Linked DNA regions of Homo sapiens: regions 1, 2, 3, 4 and 6 are each linked to region 5. Evidence: promoter capture Hi-C in human tissues and cell types (Jung and others, 2019). All regions are on one chromosome and are shown on one strand. Each heading gives the region's core, a stretch centred on a gene start or on the middle of the fragment in contact. The rest is flanking DNA. Distances are from core to core; before and after follow the strand shown.

Region 1 (2,700 bases), core at 36-2,535, 440 kb after region 5:
AACATAGGCTTTTAGTTATTTTTCTTCTGCCAGTAGCAATGATTCAAGAGGTAGAAAATGAAATATTCTACTTAAAAAGAACAACGGGCACATTTACAGTTAAGAACTTTTAGACAACTTAACAAGACAGACCTGGGATCCCTCCAGGTTGAACGTCTGAGCGTTGTGACAGAGAAGCATGACATCCTTCTCCAGGTCGCCTAGGCTCCGGTACTTATGATTACGAATCCTTTCCTGATGGAAATTTTGGAGAAAATGGAGAAAAAAAGAGGGAGAGGAAAATTCAGCGATCATTACTTAGTTAACAAAGCCTGATTTTCCCTTTGTCTTCACAGCATAAAGCCCTGCCAGGGATCTGGGACTGCATAACCCCAGGGGGCGCCATTCACCAAGTCCACCCTCCCACTCCCACTGTCATTCCTTTTGCCAAGGAGGAGCATATGATGGGAAATGAGAAGAGCAATAATGTGGGCAGGGGGAGCAGGGAGCCTGAAAGCTCTTCAATAAAATGCAATATAACGTGAGCTCTCAACATGATTAAGTAACACTCACGGAAAAGCACAAGGACATCCCAACCTTTCCTGTCGCGAGCCCTGGGTACCCATCAGTGGCGGTCAGCTCCAACTACAACCATTTCAATGACTTTACACTGCTCCTTTATTTACTTGAAGAATAAAGTTGGTAAACAAAATATCTACCTTTATTTTTTTGAAATCCACTGGCTTCCTAATTAATTCATAGTATTCTGGTAATTCTTTCCTTGAAGGTAACTGAATGAAGACTTCACTGAGCTGTCGCCCTGAACTGTAGGATGGGTGAAACAAACAAAAACAAGCCACATCAAACATTACTGAGGAAAGGTTTTATTTTTATTTCAGAACATGTCAACAAAGTAAATTATATTCCACGCATATAGATATGGAGCTTTTTAAGTCAGGAAAAATCCCACAACTCTATTGGAGATTGATGTCCCTTGTGATAATTTTAAGATCACAGTAAAATACAATTTGGTCCCCACTTCTGTCACACATACAATATGGGAAATACACTGTGGATTTCCCTTTCAGAGCAAATATATCTCTTTATTTTGATAGAAATATTTAAAATATCCTTGTTAGCTAAAAATTTCATTTTTAAATGAATTGGTAAATATATATGTATATATATACACGTACATATATATAAAAATATACATATTTAAACATTGTATTTCCATACTCCTTTGTTTTCAAATTCACATTGTATTTAGAAAGTAACTCAAAATAATATGTTAGAATATACTCTGGAAACTCAAGTGAAAAGCCTTCGTACGTACCTACTGGCTGACTATTTTCTTGGTCTTATTCCTTTAGGGTATTTTACATACTGTAAACCACACATACCTTTATTATTACTTGCCAGAGGAACCCCTTCATCTTGCCTAACTGCCATTGTGTGTGTGTAGAGCAATTTGGGTGAAAGAAGAACATGTTTCACAAGCTTAAGTGTGGATGCTTCACATTTCTGGGATTAGTGCTGTACCCTCCCCCAAATTCATGGTAAGTTTATTTGAAAGCAGGTTCTATAGCAACAAATGCTTAGCATTTTTGTAATTTTCAAACACAGGCTACAAAGCATATGAGCTTTTAACATCACTTACTGTTGGAAGCAGATGTGGTTAAAGGCACAAAGAGATTCACAATTTAGGTTCAAGATCCTAATATCTGATTTGGTCTACTCAGATCAATAACAGCTTGTGGTGTGTGATACAGTCATTTTTCACAAAAGTCTCACTCCCCTTAGGATGCCATCTCTACTTCCTTTGTGAAGCCAGAAATATCAAAAATTAATCATAAATCACTGCCATAAAAATTTCAGAAGGTGATTCTAGGAGCTTGTGAGAATACTAGAAGGCAGTGGCAAAGCATGAGTGACAACATGCTGTTTTAATCCACAGTCCCAGTTGTATAATTAAAAAGTAATCATAATGACAGTTATCATAAAAAAGGCATGCGCAGTAACTCAAACAGTTGCTTAGCAACCAGTGGAAAAAATGCTGAAGTGCAAAGAGGCCTGCATAAATTAACCGAAAATCCTCTGTCAAAGAGATGGGCTAGTTTTTCTGCTACACTGGGTCATCGTTTTTGTTTTATTTTTTTAATGCACATATGGGCCTCATGAGTACGAAAATCAGGGGTGAACGCAAGAGGTTTAAGAAGACTGCATTTTACTCAGGAATTGGATTTCTGGATCACTGCAGCAAGAACCAAGGTGTTCTCTCACCCTCTCAACCACCCCTACCCCTCACATCTCTTCGAGAAATGCGTTCGTCCTTCCCTAACTTATGCCACATAGTATATGACAAGAACTATTTTATTTACCATCACCTTCAACACAGGGCCACAATTTCTGGTCTGTTCTTTTCCTACCATTCTGAGATTTATACACCCAAACATTTTATCTGTTTGAAAAGGTGCCTATGAAATGCAGTGAGAGTAATTTGTAGAGAGCAACTTGCTTAATGAGCATTCTTTATCAGCTAGCAGCACCCCAAAAGTCAGACCTCTTTGTAATCGCGGATTTAACACCTGACTCTCCCTCAATGACACATCTTCATGGTGTCATCTTCTACATTGCCAACAGATGGTGTCATGTTTCTATTGATGGAGTACAGGCACATCTCTGTACACCTGTGATGGACACACTCTTAATTTTAACTGT
Region 2 (2,700 bases), core at 127-2,626, 380 kb after region 5:
AACCTTCCACCCTTTCTTTTTGCATCCAGAGGTACATCTTCATTTCAGAGTAAACCCAGCCACAAATGAGGGTAGCTGGGAGCATGTCCCTTCTTAGGCAGCTGAGAGGATGAAAGAGCCTCCCAACGCCTTTGATGCAGGCTGCATATTCGAGCACATTTTGAAACGTGCATCTGTGCTGTGTTGGGCCTGGAACCCCGGCGGCTCGGGGCTGGCCTTGGGCGGGTGAGAAGGAAAACGTTGCCTGGCGTTACCTGCGTCTGGAATGGGTTCCCGGAGCAGCGCTAGGCAAAACCCGGAGTGGATCTTGGGAAGAAAAGCAGGCGCTGCTCCCGGGCTCAGCACCCGGTTTCTTAGGCGCCGAAAGGTCCACCGTTTGCACACACCAGGGGTGGAGGGCTCGCTAGCGGTGGGAACCTGGAAGGGGCCAAACATGCTGTTCAGAATAATTGAGGAGGTAGAATATTCTTCCTGCTTGGTAGTGTGAAATCACTTGTTTATGGCTTCCATTCAGTCTCCGGTTTGCAGATAATGCCCCTTTCTAAGCGGTGAAACTCATGAATGTTGATCTTGCAAATCAAGCTGACACTAGCAGCTTTTGTCCACCAGGGCGTACATCAAGGCCTGCCTTCTCCCCAGCACGTTTCCCCCCTCCTCGCCATGCGCATCCCAGGCTCCCGGATTCATGAAAGGCGCGCTCCGCCCCAAGGCGACCTGAGGGTCTCTAGCAACAATCCAGGGGCTTGTCTGCCAAGCGCTCGGGCCCCACTTGGAGCGTCCTGTTCAGAGCCTCAAAGAGAGGCCCTGAAGACAAATGGCCCCGACAGGAGGAGGTCACCCAGTGAAGGGCTGCGGGAGCTCTAGACCCTTGCCCGGAGGCCTAGGCGCTCGTTCTTAAACGCGCAAACCGAGCCAAGCCCGGACAAAACCCGGGCTCCGAGGAAGGAAGCAACGAAACAATCGCATTTATGTAAAGGGAGGATCGAGGAGAGAGAGAAGGCAAAGCCAGCCAGGATGCGAGGATCTGAAATAATGAGATCAGACGGGGGACGGCGGAGGTTAACTACACCCACAGAAGCCATCGATAAAAGAGGCTTTGCTGGAAGTCAAGCCGACCGCTGGTTTTTAGAGTGGCTAGGTGGTAACTCTGGATCCTGCTGTAATAAGATGCCTTTTAATTAATGCTAACGAGCTAATGTTTATTAACTGTTCAAAGCTCCAGAGGAATAGGTGCGAACTGCAGACCAAATATGTCTTTGGGTGTTGTGCGATGAATGTGACTGCTGAACGAATTAAGAATAGTCAGAGGCACCCTCATTCTTAGGGATCCAGGCTCATGAATAAAGATATTCATGCGGCCTGGTGCGGTGGCTCACACCTGTAATCCCAGCACTTTGGAAGGCAGAGGCGGGTGGATCACCTGAGGTCAGCAGTTCGAGACCAGCCTGGCCAACATGGCGAAACCCCATCTCTACTAAAAATACAAAAATTAGCGGGGCGTGGTGGCATGCACCTGTAGTCCCAGCTACCTGGGAGGCTGAGGCAGGAGAATGGTGTGAACCCGCGAGGTGGAGGTTGCAGTGAGCCGAGATCGCGCCACTGCACTCCAGTCTGGGTGACAGAGCAAGACTCTGTCTCAAAAAAAAAAAAAAAAAGATACTCATGCTTAATTTAAATTGTATTATGTGGCAGTCTCCAAACTGGTCTCTGTAGCAGAGGCCACTCATTGTGCTTCAGAAAGTTACTGTTTACCTGTGTGTGTTTCTGTTGAGAATCATTTCAAAGCTGAGGTTGAGCTGTGGGAAGGATATATTTCCACACACAAGTCTGTACTTTAAAAAATTATCTTGGTTGCTTGGTACAGGATGAGTTACCAAGAGGGTCAGGATTCCTGCCGGCCTGGCAATATTTCCTGCTTCCCACCACCCCACCCACTTCCCCAATTTACAAGCCCTGCCCCCTCCCCTAAAGAAGACCTGTGAATGACAGGCTAGTCCTCTGCCTCCTGGTCCCAGCAAACAGGAGCACTGATTCTTGGCCTTTCTTAATCGACCTTGCTGTGACTTTGACCACCATAAAGTTCACAAGAGAAGAGATCATAAAGGATGATCAAAGTCTAGTTTTCTGAACAGGAGAGATGATCAGAGTGACATTTGGGGTTGGCACACATTTCCCAGACAGAGGGAATATGGCGAGTTAAGGCACCGTGGGAAGAGTGTCATCCATATGTCATTGTTCACTCTTTTACATTAGTTATGTACTCCAGTCCTGGAATCCAAAGGTCAACAGAATGCAGCAAGTGAACTGCTGCCCTTCTGTGGGATGAATTCTTCAAGAACAATCTTGGCTTTGTCAGTGTTTCTTACCTGCATGCCTTCTTGGATCTTGGTGTTTTCTGTCTGTTGGCTTTGACAGTGTCCAGATTGGAGGTTATTTTCATCCATGCAGTCTTCCTTCCCTCTCATTCCCTGGCCTTTGAAGAATGACCCCTCTCTGACTCCACATGGCTCTGGTAAATCAGGACATGTGACCAATAGGGAATATGACCAGGCCAATCCTATTCTCTCTTCCAGGAACTGGGATTTTCAATAGAGAGACCCAGGATATAAGAGGTTGAACAAATTATCCCGTAACTACACCCTAAGGACAGGGTTCCAAGGGTTGTGAACCCTGGAGCTGCCCTGTTGCTGGTACCTTCCA
Region 3 (2,700 bases), core at 109-2,608, 460 kb after region 5:
TCTGTTGTTACATGCTTAATATCTGATTCCTCCTCTATCCGAGGACAATATGTTAAGTGGATTTTGGAAGCAGGGAGCTAGAAGAGGAGCTTGCTTCATCCACTCCACACATCGACCTGGTACTGCAGTACCTCCAGGAATGATGCACCCCCTTAAGAAAAAATTTTTTTCAATTGGTAATTTAAAACTGATTAATACCACTATGCAACTGAGAGAGTGAAAATGTCTGTTTCCTGTCAATTTTTCAACTGAAACGAGAAGCCATCTTCAAATAAAAACATTACCACGTGATAATAAAGTGGAAACCAAGTCAACTAACCAAAACGTAGCCTAACTAGTTCATCTACTGTATGGATCTGACTGACACCCTACAGTGTCTTTGGTTTTCAAATAATTATTCACTGTTTAAAATGGCCTGGGAGGAGTGTCCCACACAGCTTTCTCAAAGTCTGTATCCAAAAATCCCATAAAAAAGGTAAATTTGCTGAAAGACCATGCTATGTGGTATTAGGAAGAAAGAGATAATTCAAGTGCTCAGAAATTCAAGTGTTGGAAGGAAAGGAGAAACTGTATTTACTATGAAGCATCTATTTTGCTTTAAACAGTCTTAACATGAAATATTTACCTTAAATATATTAGGATTCTTCTTTCTCTAACAATTCAATTAAAAAAAATAATATTACTCCATCATTCCAATCCCTTTCATCTGAAATATCTTCATTTTCAGATGGTATTTCAGAGGTCCTTAAGAATCCTTTTCTAATTTAGATATTTTAAACATTTTGTAATCTAAACTAAATTTTCAACTATCTTAAATAATACCTGATGAAACATCATACAAAATAGCAACAGTGGCCATTTTAAACAGGTACAAAGAGAGAAAGCCATAAAACACAAACTAGAAAGAACCTTAATAAAACCTAAGTGCACAACTTAACAACTCCTGCTCCTCAGGGAGCGCCACTCGGCGTCTTGGTGAGAGATGATCAAGGTGAAGGAACCAAACACTCACCTATCTTTGTAGTTTATCACAGTATCGATGATAGCGTTCATCTGCTTTGTCAGTTTGGGGGGATTTGGTGACAGTTTCTCAGCGGGAGGGCGGCCTCTTCTCTTCTTAGCTTTTTCCACATCTTCTTTTGCAGGATCTTTATCCACATTTCTTCGTCTTTTTCGCTTCTTAAGCCGTACTTCCTCTTCCATTTCCTCCAAATTGCCGTCTTCGATGGCCTGTTCGTTGGAAACAAAGGAGACAAATTCAAGACAAGAGAATAACCAAGACAAAAAAAGTATGTGTATATTTATATATAGCTCCAACAATTAGAATAAAATGAAAGAAATTAACCAAAAAAAAGTAAAAGTTAACAGTAATCAGTGGAGGAAGAAGAAAAAAGGAATGCTACCATATTGGATAAATGCATCTTTAACTCAAGTCTGTTTCATGAGCAAAACACACTGAAGGCCCAAAACACTCACAGTAAAGGAGAATATGACAAATATTAAAAGATCTATAAATTCAAGTGTTTGATGATAACTGAATCCAGATGAAATTTTAGCTCAGTTTAAGAACAAGACCCTAATGTTCTCATTACTGTAAGGGAAGGAAAAGGTAAACAAAACGAGGGGTGGGTTATGAAAAAACAATCCCTAAGAATACATCCACACGATCATATAAGCTTTGACCTTTTCTTCAGGTTTTGCATCAATTTATTCATGATTAACAATATAAATCAAAATTCCATCTAGATTTTTGTTCTAACGTGGCAATTAGTAAACAAGGAAACGGGAAAGTACAAAGCCACATTCCTTGGTAAACGCACTTAAATCATTCGATAAAGAACACACACACTCACAAACAATAAACACTTTTTTCCAATTACCTGCAAACGCTTGCTTTAAACCAGAGCCAGCAGCACTAATGCAGAGAGATAATAAAATAGCTATAAAAACAACCAGGTATAAAAGAAACCTGTTCATAAAGGGCTAAAAGATCCATGTGACAGACCCAGAAGTTTAAACTTTTTTTTTTTTTCCTGGTAAATCTCAAAACTCAAAAGAAGAAAAATAAAGGGGAAAAATACTGCCAAGGAAGAAAAAAAAAAAGAACATAAAATTTGAACATAGAAAAGAAATTTTCTAAAAAAAAGATCTTTAAATTACGTTTTGAGATTGCTCTCTCACACAAAATAACTAATGTTGTTATTTGTTCCTCCTGCCTCTCAATATTGCCTCCAGTATGCAAATGATAATCAATCCTTTCTCGTAGCTGAAAGAGCTCTAATCATAAGGCAATTACCTTCATTTCTCCACAGCACCAAACATGGCTAATATTTATGATCATGTGAGTATAACAATCAATATAAAGAGTGATTACAGCTCAGACATAATTTCTTTCACTTATGTACAACGCTTCCTGAAAAAGAAAGGTTTTGTGAAGAAAACCTGGTGCAGAACACAAAACAACCTGGCATGTTAAAAATGCCAGTGGGATTTTTAAAAAAATATGTTTTCTACGCATCCTCCAATGTGCAAATCCATAGAAGCAACATGCACACAGACAGATTCCTAAGGGACAGTCTGAGCCTAGGCCTTAATAATCAAAAGACAATTTCCATCACGATCCTACAGTGTTCAGATAACCACTATGAAGGAGGCGAGATCTGATGAGTTATGAGGAAAAAGGAAAAGGAAAAAAAAAAA
Region 4 (2,700 bases), core at 44-2,543, 360 kb after region 5:
CAGCCCAAAATATGGCACTTGACATTTACTTTTTTCAGTGTGTGTTGTAGACACTGCAGTCTATAGAGCCAAGGTTTTATTGTCTTTCTGCAGGTCACTCCTTGTTTTCTTCTATCATCTGATAGGCTTCTGTTGCTGTCCAAGTCATTACTCTAGTGTGAAGATAGCCTTAAAAGAATAACAAAAGTCATTAAACATATGTACCTAGTGCTTGGTTAAGAGAGGTAGAGAAGGACTGCAGAATAGCTACAGTTCCCTTTATTAAAATGGAAACTAGAGTCAAGGTGTTTGCTCCTCCAGGTCATCAGTGCAACCTATGGAAGAATCTGACTTATTGCTGCTATCCTCTTTTCTAAAGGAAAAATACAGAGTGTTATAATTATAAAAGGGTTTTAACTAAATTCACCTAGTCCAATCTGTCCCATTTTATAGATAGGGAAACTGAGACACAAATGGTTTAAAAAAATTCTCAAAATTACAAAACTGACAGACCAGGACAATAAAATATTTAATTCACAACCCCGTTTCCTTTTCCAGATCCTCTATACAAATCCTCTATCCCTCTCCCTCTCTTCCTATCCTCTCTTCTCTCTCATTAAAATCACCTTAAGCAAAGAGTATGAATAAAATGAATGATATATAGAGTACCTAGCCATGCTTCCTTGTAGCTAAAGTAAGATTAAAGCATTATCTGTGGATGTTAGCGTCCATCAGCAGACAGGTGCTCCTGGGGTTTGTCAGCAGGTGCAGGAAAGAGGAAGCTTGCTGATGATTGAACATTTTTTCCAGCCCAATGCACTCTCAGAGGAAAGAGCCAGGGCATCACATGTTTGTCATTGCTTACTATTGAACTCTCAAAGCATTAAAGCGACACAATGTGTGGGGGCTATGAGCCCCTTTATTAGTAGACATACTGAAGAAACAAGATGTAAGGGAGTCAAAAGGAAATTAACATGGTCAGGATGTTGCTTCGGTACCTCTTTCCATTGTATGTAAGCCCTTAAAATCTTTCCCCAGAGCAATGCATTATCCTTCTCGCTTAATGATGAAACATCGGATGCACACCATTATAGAGATGTGCTTTGACATTTTTTTTCTCCAAAAGTGATGGGCGTGTGATGATCCAAGGTTAAAAGCAGTCTGCAGACATAATTATGACAAGGAGCTAGTCACTTAACCCCTCTGACTTTCATTTTGTTTTTTTTTTTGTTATTTCCAATTTATAAAATGAAGGAATTGAATTAGATGACCTCTGTGACCCCTTCTAGCTCAGACATTTCAAATCTATAAACACAAAACCATCTGCCTCACGTTGGGACTAAGCTCATAATTTTGTTTCGTTAGTGGTCTGTCTTAATCAGCACAGCAAAAAGGAGAGAATACAGTTTTTATTTGACTGGTGGACACTAGGAACGCCCAGGTTCTTAGTTGGAATCCTCTTCCTCGGAAAGATTTTGTTTGTAATGTGGCCACAAATCTTGCTCCTAACTTGCTGGTTTACTGATATGTAATGTTAAATCAAACGAAAAGTAGCTTTGAACAGATACCTATGCTAGAGCTGAATCCACAGCTTTGTTGAAAAAATTCTTTTTTTTTTTTTTTTTTTGAAACAGAGTCTTGACCTCCGCCTCCTGGGTTCAAGCGATTCTCCTGCCTCACCCTCCCAACTAGCTGGAATTACAGGCTCCCGCCACCACACCCAGCTAATTTTTGTATTTTTAATAGAGTTGGGGTTTTGCCATGTTGACCAGGCTGGTCTCGAACTCCTATCCTTAGGTGATCCACCCGCCTCGTCTTCCCAAAGTGCTGCGATTACAGATGTGAGCCACTATACCCGGCCTGAAAAAACATTATTAATTGCACATGAGAATCATATTAAACTCTACATATCCCAGTTATCTAAGGCTTCTAGAAGAGAAGTGACATGAAATCTCATCTTGAAACACTGACATCTCCTTAGGAGGATGAGGAGTAAGAATGGGAGTTGTTATTGGAGCCTTTCTTCTGTAAATATAATGGCCAGTTAAGGTGGATGATGTTCATGGTTAATCAAGTCTGGATGAGTTTACATAGAAAAAAATTTAGTTGTCTGGTTCTTGAAATTTTTTTTAATTGAGTGCATAAAAAACTGTATAAAGATGTGACACCCCTGTGTGAAAGAAGATGCCCTGTTCTCAGAGCTAATGGAAAGTGTCATCTATGTGGAACCAATTATTGTAGATGGCTCATTCATTCACTTATTTCTTCAACCACAATGTTTTTCAGTGCAAAAAATGCCCTAGCATTAGGTGCAGATATTGTGAATATGAATAGAGATGGTGTATGTGCTCAAGGGACTAATTGTCTAATAAATAGGGAGACGAACATACCCTGAGTGTACACCATCTATAATGCAGACACAAGGGGTGAGAAAGACTATGGGAGATACGAGTAACTGTCTTAGCTAGGGAGACCTGGAGGTAGCACTAAGAGGTAACATGTGGGCTTTGTCTTCCAGAATGGATGGCAGAAATGTGCAGTGGAAATGTCAGGAAAAGGCATGTGTGCTAGACATCCTGTTTGCCCCTCCAAATCCCACACTTCTGACCTGGATGAATCATATCAACAGGTTCTTGAACCCTTTGGCTTTAAGTTATGGTGGTCAATGGGTAGCCCAAACAGGCAATTGGTGGAAGAGGAGAGTGAGGTCAGGATATTTTA
Region 5 (2,700 bases), core at 178-2,677:
GTCTGGGGACCCGACAGTAGTCACCGCCGCCCTTCCCAACAAGACAGGGCCACACGCTCGCTCTCGCGCTGCTCCTTTGAGCTATTGTGTAGAATGAAGGCTAATTACAGTCACTAGCCTAGGACTCAATTCCTCTCGAGGAAACGTCACCGGGAAGGAGGGTCAGCAAACTAACCTGATTAAGTCTCCCCTCCACTCCCCCTCCGCGTTCAGCTACACGGGAGACCCGAGCGGTTTCCAAACGCCGCCCGAGGCGGGGAAAAGGGAGAGGAGAAGCGCCCAGAGCAGAGTCCTGCGTAAAGCCCCGCCGCTCCCCTACCCCGCACGCCGGAGAGGCGGCCCCGCGCCGGGGGAGTCGCAGTCCGGGTGCCCTCGGCTCCGCGGAGCCTCCCGGCCGCCGCCCACCGAACGTGCGCCAGCTCGCGGCCGCCGGAAGACTCTGAAGCCCGGCCGGCCCCTGGCGCTCCGCGTCCCCGGAGGCGCTCACCTTCTCCCCCCGTCCGCTCCCGCACTCCCCGGGGTTCGAGGGTGCGCCCGAGGCTGCCGCACACGTCTTGGCCCTCTGCCTCCTTCCCAACACTGCGCCTGGCAGAGGAGGCAGAACCATTGTTCAATGCTCAGAAGCCCACGCACCTCGGCGCCCGTCAAGAGGGCGAGAAACGAGGCGAAGCAGCGGCTCTGGGGGAGGCGGAGTGAGGGGCAGAAGACTAGTTCAGGCGAGGCGTCGGGGCACCCCGAACCCCGCTGTTCCCCAAGCCCGGCTCCCTTTAGCCTCGGCGCTGACAGCTCAGAGGCGCCACCACGGAGGGGAGGGAGGGAAGGCGAGGAGAACCGAGAGGCGCCTCCTAGGAGGCGGGTGGGCAAACGGAGACCTACGCCTCGGGGTCTCCCGGTGCCCCGGCTGGGTCCCGCCCGCCGGCGGAGGGGCGCGTCCTCACTCACCGGTTCCGGTGGCGCCGCTCTCCCGGGGCGCCCAGCACAGCGCGAGCAGCAGCCAGAGCGCCCAGAGCGCGGACGTGCCCATGGTGCCCGCCTGGATGGTGCCGCCGCCGCCGCCGCCGCCGCCGTTCGCTCCGCACGACAAGTTACCAGTCCTTCCGAAAGGAGGAAGAAGGTGGGGGCGGGGAGGGGAAAGGGGGAGAAGGAGGGGAAGGAGTTGGCGGGGGAAGGGAGCGGGGAAGAAGAGGGCACCCCCTCCCCTACAACTTGCACAGTCTCCTCCCCACCCACCCAGCCACCTCCCCGGGCTGCAGCAGCAGTGCAAGCCGAGCCTGCGGGCAGAAAATAATGCAGGCGCTGCAGAGGAGGGGAGGCAAGGGGAGAGGAGGGAAGGGAGAGGGGGTGGGGAGCCGAGAGCAGAAGAGAGCACAGAACGGAGAGGAGCCGGTAGCGGAGCACCCGCACCGGCGGCGGCCGGAGAGCGGGGTGAGCAGCGGGGAGGGGGCCGGAGGGGGCGTGGTCAACGGGAGGCGCGGCGGGCGGGCGGGAGCGCGGCGGCTTCGGCCCTCCTTTCCCTCGACGCGCTCCTCTTGCACGCGCCGGGCAGCCGGGTGCCCGCGCGGGGAGCGTGCGAGTGTGAGCGTGCGTGAGTGACCGCGGTCGTGGTCGTGGCTGCCGCCGCCGCCACCCGGACCGCTCTAGGGGCCCGGCTGCTCCGCGCGTTCGCCTGGGGCTCACGGGGGCCCGGGGCGACCGCTGGTTGGCTCGCGCGCCGCCCTCGCCTCCAATCCCGGGTGCCTGTCCTAATTTCCTGATCCAGGGAACCTGCCGCCGCAGCGGCTGTGCGCTCCCTACAGTCATTACTGTACCCTCCCGGCAGCCTCCGGCAGAACACGCAGCAGCAGCAGCAGTTAGCGCTGATGCAACTATCGTTGCTGTTGCCACCGCCTCCCCACTGACGGGGCGTGCACCTGGGGGGTACTTGCAGTTTCCAGGGGCAACAAGCATCTCTCTACCACCCTCTCCTGCGCCCCTGAGAGAGGCTGGTAGGTAGCATCTTCTTCGGGCCTCCTCTATCCACTCAGAAAGTGATGAAGCGGAGGGGCTCCAAACGTTTGGGCTGCTCAAAAGTGGGGTTTGGGATGCCGGTCTCAATCGCACGCTGAGATGCCGTTTTGCCGAAAACTAAATGTGTCTTTAAGTGAGAGAGTGTGTATGTTTGAAAGAGAGTGCGCGCGGTTGTGGCTGGTCCTCTGTAATAGAACAAGACTGAAATAACCCAGCCTGGGATGAGGAGAAGGGAAATTGCTAGCGCAGCTTTGCATTTGCTCATCAACGATTATAGTTAATTGCTAATTGCACAAAATGATAGTTTGAGGGCCTGTAATTAAAAGCTTAACCTTTTCTTGTTTGGAAGAGAGGGGCCCCATACGTTTATTCCTCTTGATATACTTTGTAACATTCAATTACAAGAATCGAGGAAAGAATAAAGGAAGCAAAGACAAGACTCCTAGAAAGGGTTGGTTCTTCTTTTGTGCCTGACAGTACCTGAGTCTATAATTTGCTTTTTGTGTACTTCAGTTTTCTTGCACACTTAGCCCTGGTTGAGGTGCATTGTCTGCTGTGGTCTGTTGAGCATCTAACCAGAGTGGGAGGGCACATCGAGCGATTTCACTTTCTTAAATAAAAGGTTTTTGGTATTTTGAAAAAGTTGTTTTTATCTTAATTCAAACTTGGAAGGTTTCAATAATATCATATTCT
Region 6 (2,700 bases), core at 112-2,611, 270 kb after region 5:
ATTAATAGCCTTCTAAACAAATACAATGGCAAAGTAAGCAGTAAAACCTCAACCTCCGGCCTTCTATTCATCACTCAATGCACTGTAGATATTGATGGCATGGAGCCCTGTTAATCCATCACTAAATGTCTGTGCTATTATGCCCAGAGTAAAAGGATCGTCCTCATTTTTAGTCCAGACGAAAGACTTCACAAGCATTAAAATAGCTCCAATTGATCAAAAATTAAACAGAGCAAGATAGAATTAAAAAATGAACACAAGTCACTGGAGTGTTATGCTTGAAATTATTTCTGTGTTTAGGGAGGGAAGTTTGGTTCTTTAAAGTTACTTTGAGAGGAAGTTTGTCCATGTTGGGGAAAAACATATCCTTTTTCCTTCACCCCACTGTCCACAGCAGTGCAGGAGATTCTACCAGACCAGGAAGGAGCTGTGGGTGGGAAAGCTCCACGTGGAACTGCTCAGCTGACCTCGATGCTGCTGGATCCCTCGTGTCTGTCGGAAATGAACTGGAAGGGTGGGGTCACTGGCCCCACAGCAGGCGCTCCCTCTGGTCTTCGCCTTTATCATCCTTCATTATTCTGTTTTCCCGCCTTGGCTTGGGGCCAGCCCTTCTGTCCTGCCATCTTCTGAGACTGTGAATAATTCCCTCCCTTCATTTACATTGCTTCTGTGAAGTGTAACTTTATCATGTTCCTCCAGAGCCTTCTCTTTTTCTAGGTTATATAAATTTAGCTCTTCACTCTTTTTTCATAACTTGCCCTCCAATTCTCTTGCTAGTTTATTAATTTTCCTTCATTTCTTGCACATTTGCACAGGTACACACCCTTTTTGCATAGTAAAGGGCCATGGGAAACAGGAATGAAGAAACTGTGAAAATGCCAAAATGTAAACTGAGAAGAGGGGAAACAGGAAATGTCTTTAGACTGATAGTAAATGCATAGAAACTTTTTTGGAAAAGGCCCATGAAAAGAATGCCATTTAAAAAAGGTTATGGTTTTTGGAACCTGTATTCAGTTTCTCCCTCCAGATAGAGAGTTCTAATTAAAATCAGCCTATAAGATGTTTTCAACATGTGCCGAGGGCTGGGCCATGAAAAATCTTTCTCTGACACTCCTGTTCTCCCTTTTCCCACTCTAATCTTTCCTCTCCCCAGAAAAACAAAAACAAAACTCACTTGCACCCAGCTGATTTCAACAACTCAAACGAGTTCCAAAACACGGAGAGCCGCAGAGAAGCCACGTTCCCTCAGGTGAAGGACAGGGCATGGGCACTGACTCTACCCTCCCCACCCAACCCACCGCCTCAGGGTAACTGCAAGGCTCTCCCTGTGTGTTTAAAGTCTGCAGATTGTTATGGGGACAGATGCCCTCCCTACCTTGCCCCTGAGCTTCTCAGCTCACCGTACCTGCTTCTGGGGGTCACACTTGGGGTTGCTTTATTGCACTACAGGAAATACTTGAGGGAGAATCGATGAATCTATGCCTTGTTTTTATTTTTCTAGAAACACAATCAAAACCCAAGTTCCTTTTCTTTTATGATTTCAAAAGCTTTGTTTTATTTTTCTCTCCCTTTTTCTGGCCTCGTTAATGTTTCTGTTGTAAGGAGTTGAAAATAAAAATGACCCAGGACTTGTATGTGGCCACTTCTAGCATTAGGGGCTAACAAGAATGATTGCCTTCCAGGCTTTCTCTGTTACAATAGCAAGGCACTTGGCACTGCGTAGACTGAGACACGACTAACACAGGATAAAATCTGGGCAACAATAGCGTGCTTTTAAACAAAATCTTATGGTTACACATTTACTTCAGATCCCAAGAACTTCCCAAGCTTTTACTTTATATTATCTGCAAAATGTGGTTACTCCTCTTCTACTGGTGGACACCCTGAACTGCAAAGAGGTTCTGAGACTTCCCCTTTCTACATTGTTGGCTGCAGGCCTGAGGCCGGAAGCCAGGGTCCCAGTTCTCCAGAACTGTCACCTGATGTAGCTGCCCTTTGGGGGGTGAAATCATGGGACCTTCTGCCATTATGTATCCTTTAGCTCTTAGGCTGTTACTTGTGTTTTGAAGTGTTTATACTTACTTTAAGAAGGTGGGACTTATCTTTGTAGAAACCAAAATGTTATACTAACAAATGCCAAATTGTATTATTCCAAGACCTACAATGGCTTAGCCTGATGAATAAGTCCTCTGGGTTTACCTAATCTGATTTTACTAGGTCCTTGTGTTTTGCAGCTGACCTCAGCTGGGCTGTCCATGGTTCCACCGGGCAACCAGGAGAGATGGAGGCAGGTGGTGGTTAAAGACACCAGGGTTGGCATGCATTGTGTGTGGCCTGACTTTAAGCAGGGGAAGAAAAAGGTCCATGAAGGTTATTATGCGCTGACTTGTGCTCCCGCCACCAGCACACCTGCCTGTCCACTAAAATTCATATGTTGAAGCATTAACTCCCAGTACCTTAGAATGTGACTATATTGGAGGTAGGGTCTTTAAGAGGGTGATTAAGTTAAGATGAGGCCTTTTGCTGTGATCCAATCTGGCTGGTGTCCTTATAAGAAGAGATTAGGACATACAGAGAGAGACACCGGGGATATACACACTCAGAGAAAAGGCCACGTCGCGATAGAGATAAGAAACAAGCACACAAGGAGAAAGGTGGTGGGAATCGAGTGAGACAAAACAGGAAGTCCAATGTCTGAGG

Evidence for each region. The method cuts DNA at HindIII sites, captures the fragments that hold promoters and counts their contacts. A contact is called where the count stands out against the background at its distance.
Region 1: a fragment that was not itself captured here is called in contact with the fragment with the promoter of VLDLR in region 5 in 2 of the 25 tissues and cell types used here (heart left ventricle and hippocampus).
Region 2: a fragment that was not itself captured here is called in contact with the fragment with the promoter of VLDLR in region 5 in 1 of the 25 tissues and cell types used here (dorsolateral prefrontal cortex).
Region 3: a contact is called between a fragment that was not itself captured here and the fragment with the promoter of VLDLR in region 5, in 3 of the 25 tissues and cell types used here (dorsolateral prefrontal cortex, heart right ventricle and hippocampus).
Region 4: a contact is called between a fragment that was not itself captured here and the fragment with the promoter of VLDLR in region 5, in 1 of the 25 tissues and cell types used here (heart left ventricle).
Region 6: a contact is called between a fragment that was not itself captured here and the fragment with the promoter of VLDLR in region 5, in 1 of the 25 tissues and cell types used here (lymphoblastoid cells).

Annotation. Positions count from the first base shown.
Region 1 is chr9:2,179,675-2,182,374 of GRCh38, reverse strand. SMARCA2 (SWI/SNF related BAF chromatin remodeling complex subunit ATPase 2) reads right to left here. Exons shown (of 34, transcript NM_003070.5): 30 at 699-804; 31 at 133-234. LOC107987043 (a long non-coding RNA gene) reads left to right here. Exons shown (of 5, transcript XR_007061395.1): 3 at 1,353-1,538. Among named protein-coding and RNA genes, the nearest start is that of SMARCA2, 170 kb to the right of the region's middle. The HindIII fragment of the contact is 3,385 bases long and covers 1-2,700 here.
Region 2 is chr9:2,239,601-2,242,300 of GRCh38, reverse strand. All of the region lies in intron 1 of LOC107987043 (a long non-coding RNA gene), which reads left to right. Among named protein-coding and RNA genes, the nearest start is that of SMARCA2, 230 kb to the right of the region's middle. RefSeq lists enhancers at 300-1,174, 1-1,365. The HindIII fragment of the contact is 3,743 bases long and covers 1-2,700 here.
Region 3 is chr9:2,160,216-2,162,915 of GRCh38, reverse strand. SMARCA2 (SWI/SNF related BAF chromatin remodeling complex subunit ATPase 2) reads right to left here. Exons shown (of 34, transcript NM_003070.5): 28 at 1,013-1,230. It also overlaps the pseudogene RNU2-25P. Among named protein-coding and RNA genes, the nearest start is that of SMARCA2, 150 kb to the right of the region's middle. The HindIII fragment of the contact is 3,757 bases long and covers 1-2,700 here.
Region 4 is chr9:2,255,805-2,258,504 of GRCh38, reverse strand. No RefSeq gene overlaps it. Among named protein-coding and RNA genes, the nearest start is that of SMARCA2, 240 kb to the right of the region's middle. The HindIII fragment of the contact is 4,855 bases long and covers 1-2,700 here.
Region 5 is chr9:2,620,514-2,623,213 of GRCh38, reverse strand. It overlaps VLDLR (very low density lipoprotein receptor), which reads right to left and starts at 1,427. Exons shown (of 19, transcript NM_003383.5): 1 at 943-1,427. The coding sequence starts at 1,024. VLDLR-AS1 (VLDLR antisense RNA 1) reads left to right here and starts at 841. Exons shown (of 4, transcript NR_015375.2): 1 at 841-1,114. RefSeq lists silencers at 293-382, 393-482, 753-1,022, 1,633-1,712 and an enhancer at 1,591-1,885. The HindIII fragment of the contact is 11,914 bases long and covers 1-2,700 here.
Region 6 is chr9:2,353,632-2,356,331 of GRCh38, reverse strand. No RefSeq gene overlaps it. Among named protein-coding and RNA genes, the nearest start is that of VLDLR, 270 kb to the left of the region's middle. The HindIII fragment of the contact is 5,263 bases long and covers 1-2,700 here.